Regions from separate parts of the Homo sapiens genome. Here region 1 is linked to region 2. The links are contacts of gene promoters, found by promoter capture Hi-C in human tissues and cell types (Jung and others, 2019). All regions are on one chromosome and are shown on one strand. Each heading gives the region's core, a stretch centred on a gene start or on the middle of the fragment in contact. The rest is flanking DNA. Distances are from core to core; before and after follow the strand shown.

The links. The method cuts DNA at HindIII sites, captures the fragments that hold promoters and counts their contacts. A contact is called where the count stands out against the background at its distance.
Region 1: a fragment that was not itself captured here is called in contact with the fragment with the promoter of TMEM63A in region 2 in 1 of the 25 tissues and cell types used here (spleen).

Annotation. Positions count from the first base shown.
Region 1 is chr1:225,339,234-225,342,332 of GRCh38, reverse strand. DNAH14 (dynein axonemal heavy chain 14) reads right to left here. Exons shown (of 86, transcript NM_001367479.1): 69 at 1,632-1,876. Among named protein-coding and RNA genes, the nearest start is that of LBR, 87 kb to the left of the region's middle. The HindIII fragment of the contact is 4,973 bases long and covers 1-3,099 here.
Region 2 is chr1:225,881,057-225,884,040 of GRCh38, reverse strand. It overlaps TMEM63A (transmembrane protein 63A), which reads left to right and starts at 1,661. Exons shown (of 25, transcript NM_014698.3): 1 at 1,661-1,737. RefSeq lists enhancers at 743-792, 853-902 and silencers at 1,413-1,572, 2,133-2,252. The HindIII fragment of the contact is 9,047 bases long and covers 63-2,984 here.

The sequences.
Region 1 (3,099 bases), core at 157-2,656, 540 kb after region 2:
TTTGTTTTTAATTCCCTGGGTTCTTTTATGTTTGAAATGGTCAATATTGCTCCCAGGATATGGGTGCTTCATGCCCTATCAAACTTGGTTTCCTCCCCTTTCAAAAATTATATTCTTATTATTACTATTGGTAAAATTTTGCCTTTTTAAAAAAACTAGCTTTTAATTTGTTTTACTACAGTATCTGGTAACAAATGGACTTGCCTTTCAGACCATGGGCTTTAGATTAGACAAATAATATGTAATCAGAAGTGGACATTATAATTGTGTAGAGAGCTTCGAAAATAAATATAAGCCAGGGCCCGATGTGCGGAAGTTCAGATTCAGTAAGTCTGTGGCGGTACCCACTGGGCATTTGTATTTTTTAAAAAGAAAGAAAGGTAATAAACTCTACAGATGATTTCTATACATACTCTTGAGGACTAAAGTGTTTGAGAAACCTTCAAGTTCCAGTGAGTCACAAGTTAAAATAGAAAGGCAGTCCATTGTTAGATAAACTGTATTTTATCACAGTTGACTTAGGGGCATACATCAGTGTGACTCAGGAATTTATGTTTCTTTAAGTTTAGATGCAGTAAAGATTGTGGTTTCTTAGATATTTTTTGTGCTGAAGAAGAAAATAATTTCTACTGCTACTTTAATTAAAAGCTTTTTTTGTTTGTTTGTTTGAAGGAGTTTTGCTCTTCTAACCCAAGCTGGAGTGCAATGGCACCATCTTGACTCACCGCAACCTCCATCTCCTGGGTTCAAGCAATTCTCCTGTCTCAACCTCCCAAGTAGCTGGGATTACAGGCATGCGCCACCAAGTCTGGCTAATTTTGTATTTTTAGTAGAGACGGGGTTTCTCCATGTTGGTCAGGCTGGTGTATTTTTAGTAGAGATGGGGTTTCTCCATGTTGGTCAGGCTGGTCTCGAACTCCTGACCTCGGGTGATCCACCTGCTTCGGCCTCCCAAAGTGTTGGGATTACAGGCGTGAGCCACCGTGCCCGGCCAACAGCATGTTTTAATGGGATACATAAAAGTCACTGGATTATTTTCTTTAAAAATATCTTTTAGTTATTAAGTCGGGTGTGGTGGCATGCGCTGGTAATCCCAGGTACTCAGGAAGTTGAGGCTGGAGAATTGCTGGAATCCAGGAGGCGGAGGTTGCAGTGAGCCGAGATTGCGCCACTGCACTCCAGACTGGGTGATGGAGTAAGACTGTCTAAAAAAAATAAAAAATAAAGAAAAATAAAATAAAATATCTTTTCATTATTAATACTTGGGGAAAACCCAATCATTGAGTCTCTGTAATCTAACTTGAGACATATAACAGATGTCTGTACCTGAAGTACAGGCATAGAGCCTTGGAGGGAACTAACTAGATTCCGTAAGATTTGTCTTAGAACTTATACCAGTTACAGGGTGGCAAATGTTCTACAACACAATGAGCTGAAGCAAAAGTGGAACTGAGGGACACCAAAATTCACAATATTTAAGTTTAGAAATGGGGTGATTCACCTACCTTTATCAGTTACCTGGTGGAAATGGAGATTTGGTATTTTTGGCTCAAATTCAAAATTTGGTTCTTATAACTTTTTATTCTATCCTTTGCAAAGATCTCTTACTATCACTAAATATCTTGACTTACCTAGTGCTTTCTGCAGTAAATTTAATGTTTTTTCCTCTAGTTCTTCAAGAGTTATGGCATCAAGGGAAATACTCTCCAGTAACTTGGAACGTTGATCTTCTAAATGAGGAACTTCATGAGTTACCACAGTAGACAAGAGTTGATCTTGCAAACCTTGGAATGTTACAGTGAAGTTGATCATAGTAACAAAGTTATAAACTGATGGAAGAAAATGGGGGTTGTCTATTTCTGTAGATAAGTATAACCTGAACATGAGAAAGGCACCAGTTATTCAAAGAACATGTAGAAGAAAAAAATGAACCAATTTATTTAAAAATACATAAAGCATTTTTCCTGGAAGTACACAAGATTTTTAGTGTTTTTCAGCTTTGTATACAAAGTACACTTTCAATTTATATTATATGAATACATTTGCATTGAAGTCTTAAAAAAATACAACCACAGACTGTGTACATACTATGTTTAGTTTACACATAAGGATGGAGTACAGAAAAATGTTAAATAGTAGAAGTTTTGACTTGCCACTAGATCATTGTGAAAACCATGGTTTTTACCTGAGTGAGTGAGAAGCCAATGGAGGGATTTGAGGAGTGACATGGTCTTTTTAAATCAGACTTCTCTAGCAGCTATCATTTAAAAAAAAATTTCAATAGCTTTAGAAGTAAAGCTACATGGATTAATTGTATGGTGGTGAAGTCTGAAATTTCCGTGCACCCATAACCTGAGCAGTGTACATTGTACCCAACATGTAGCAGCCATCTTGAGAATAGCCTGGGAGGAGAGGCAGAGGAGGAAGAGGGAAGCTGGCAGACTGGGTTACATGTGAGAAATGATGGTGGCGTGGAGCAGGGTGGTGTCAGCAGCAGTCATAGTGAAGAGTGGGCAGATTAATAAAGCAGAGACAATACTTCATTCCACTTTATGAAGGGTGAAATTGAAGCTTAATGATATTAAACAAATTGCCCATATCACATGGCCAGAAAATGACAGAGTGAGGTCTATCACTGAAGCCTGCCCTCTACAACAGTGCCCTCCAGCAGCTTCTCAACACACATTCCTAACATGGGGACCATGTTGTCTATTCAGGAAAATGTAACTTCATTAGCATTTTTAGCACTGTTACTTAATCAAGCAAATTATATCTAGCAAGAAAAAAGAATGGGTTAATGCAGTGTTTTCCAAAGTGTAGTCTATACAACACTATTTTCTGAAGAGGGTTTGGTGAATAAAGGGGTTTTAAAGTCCCGTAGGACTGTTACCTTTAGCCCACTTTAAAAAGCCATGGGATCCCTTTTTTGAGTGATACCTATTAAACCATGGAAATGTTTTGAGGAACATACTTTGGAAACTGTTTTATTAATGGAAGAGAGAATTATTATTATTATTTTTTCAGACAGAGTTTCACTCTTGTCGCCCAGGCTGGAGTGCAATGGTGCGATCTCAGCTCACTGCAACCTCTGCCTCCCAG
Region 2 (2,984 bases), core at 412-2,911:
GACAGTCTAAGGAGCCAACGGGGAGTCCAGGGGCCACACCCAGGACTCTGCAGACCGTCAGATGTGGAGGTAAGAGAGCAGGGAGGGGGGATGGCCAGGCGCAGCTATGGAGGGACAAGGGCAGAGATGATACTGGCGGGGGGCATAGAGGAAAAACCCTGGAAAATAACTAGTGGCTAGAGCTTTGGGGAGAGAAGGGGAAAGACAGATGGGACAGAAAAGAACTGAGAGAGGCAGGAAGAGACCCTCCCCACCCCACTCCTGGACAGCCACAGACTGGCGCTAGAATCAGGGACAGGGAGGTAAGGAGGAATTTTTTTTTTTTTTTTTTTTTTTTTGAGACAGAGTTTCGCTCTTGTTGCCCAGGCTGGAGTTCAATGGTGAAATCTCAGCTCACCGCAACCTCCGCCTCCCAGGTTCAAGCGATTCTCCTGCCTCAGACTCCCTAGTAGCTGGGATTACAGGCATGTGCCACCACACCCGGCTAATTTTGTATTTTTAGTAGAGACGGGGTTTCTCCATGCGGGTCAGGCTGGTCTCGAACTCCAGACCTAAGGTGATCCGCCCACCTCGGCCTCCCAAAGTGCTGGTATTACAGGCATGAGCCACCGCGCCCGGCCATAAGGAGGATATTTTTATGCCGTTACAGAAAAAGATGAAAGCTCAGAAATGGAAGGGAGGTCGGAGAACCTGCAAAGGCATGCATGTGGGGTGAGGACTGCTCAGAGCTCAGAGAGGGGTGCTGGAAGGGACCTGAGAGGAAGCTTTGGTCCAACCACTCATTTCACAGATAGGGAAACAGGGGCCTGCGGACGGGTTGGTTTGCTCCTTGATTCCCAGGGCGCGCGGTCCTCCCCGAACCCAGCCTCGCTTCCCGCGCAGCGCCCAGCAGTCCCTGGCGCGGCGGGCCGGCCCTGCCCTCGCGAGCTTGCGGTCCGGTTGTGGAGGCCACCGGCTCCCTGGAAACATTTGGCTCCCGGCCGGGAGGCATGCCGCGCTCTCGGACCTGGGCTGGAGTAGGTGCCCTTGGCGGCCCTGGCTCGAGCAGTAATGGACTAGCCCCAGGGGGCGTTGGAAATGCTGCGACCCGCCCCCACATTTTTGCCCGAACGGAGACCCTCCGGGCTTTCACGGTCCGGCCTTCTACAGCGGCGGGGGAGCCGTGGCCTCTTGCAGGGCGCTCCGCGCGGTTCCCGACTACCCGGAGCCGAGGTGCGGGCTGAATCCTGCTGAGCTCCCCATGCTACCACCCCCGCAACCCCACTCTCCCGGGGCGGGTCTAAGAGCTCTTCGGGGAAATTCAAAGCACTACAGGGACCAACGTTTGCAGATGCTCTCCCTGCGCCGCGACCACCCTGTGCTTGGCCCAGTTCTCCCGGAGGCGTCCAGAGACTGGGCTCGTGCCGGGGGACGGAAGAGGGTGCGCCCCGGCGGATCCCTTCTTGGAGCCTGGACGTGAGCTGGCCGGTCCGGGGCTTGCAGACCTCCGGGAGGAGCTGCGGGGCTGAGCGGCGACCAGGAGGCCAGGCCGGGGCAGAGGACCGCCGAGGGCCACCGCGGGAGGCGCAGTCAGCTGCGTACAGGCTTGCGCCGCCGCGGGCCAAGACTCCAAATTGGGAAAGGGGTGGCCGCAGCTCTGCGCATGTGCAGGAGGCGCCGGAGTTTCACTTTGTAACTTTTAAGTGGTCGGAACACGCCCCGCGCTGCTGGGTCCCGCCAGACACGCCGCCGCCGCAGGTACAGGGGACAGGGGGCGTGAGGAGGGGCAATGCACCCTCCGCCTTTCCCGGGACGTGCGCGCCAGGTGTCCGGTTCCGGAACGGCTCCCAGCCTACGCAGACCCCAGAGCCCCCGACCCCAAGCAGGGGGTGACGACGCGGGATTGGGTGGGAGGAGAGGGTCCGGGCAGCGCCTCCATTCCAGCCCTGCGCTCCTTGGGAATTCCTGGCGGCTTTTCAGGACTTTCCTCTCCGGCTTTTCGCTTTCAGGGCTGGTATCTCCTTCTTCCCCACCCCTCTCTTTGGGATTTGTCGGCGGAGTCCGACCTCCCACCTAACTAGGAGTGCAGCTATGGGCTCCTCGGACCCTATACGAGGCCGGGCTGGGAAAGGGCCAAGCGTCCGACTCTCCTGACGCCAGGAAGGCAGAGGCCACCCCTCGGGCTGTTCCTGGGTGACCACTTCCTGCAGCCTTGGCGGAGTCCTGAGGAGGGAGGCTGGGGACTCGGGGACTGGGGGGAAGGGCGGGGGCGGAAAGGGTGAGGCGAGCTCTGCTAAGAAACCAAATCCGCAAAGGTTCCAGCACCTGATAAGACTAGCTACCTGAGGCCCTGGAGGGGCCTTGGTCATTCAGCCCCAGGCAGGTGGTGTCCTCTTCAAGGGCAGGGGTGGACAGCGTGGCGGACCCACTGACCCTCCCTTGACACCTCTCAGGTCATCCTCAAGTCTGCTGTGCCTTCAAGGGGGATATGAACGGAAGCCGAGGCTCCTTTTCCCTTCACACGCCCCTCTCCTTTGTTTAGTGTGGGGGCAAAGGTCTCTCCTAGCTGTTCGTTGGGCTCTAACAGAGAAGACGTCAGGTGGGATCCTGCCCTTGTGTTTCCCATTAGCTGGAGGGGCGACTTAAAATAAAGGCAGACAGCTTCTAATTGCTTGCTAGGGCCGGGTCCTGGGCTAAGTGCTTTACAGGTGTTGTTTGGGATCTGTGCCTCCCAACAGCTCCGTGAGAGAAAGTCATCACTCGCATTTCCTGGCGAAGGAAGCCAAGGCACAGAGTGGTTAGGCTGCTTGTCTGAACTGCGTGGTGCTGAGACCCTAACTCCAGAGCCTGCTCACATAATCCCTGAGCCACACTGCCTCTGGTTTCAGCCAGGGGCTGTGTCATTTCCTTTGTGCTCCAGGGTAGGAGGTAAACAGTTGTCCAGGTTACTGGGTCCTGTTTGGTGTTGCCATAAGGAGAAGTTTGTACTTTACTTTGCAACCTTA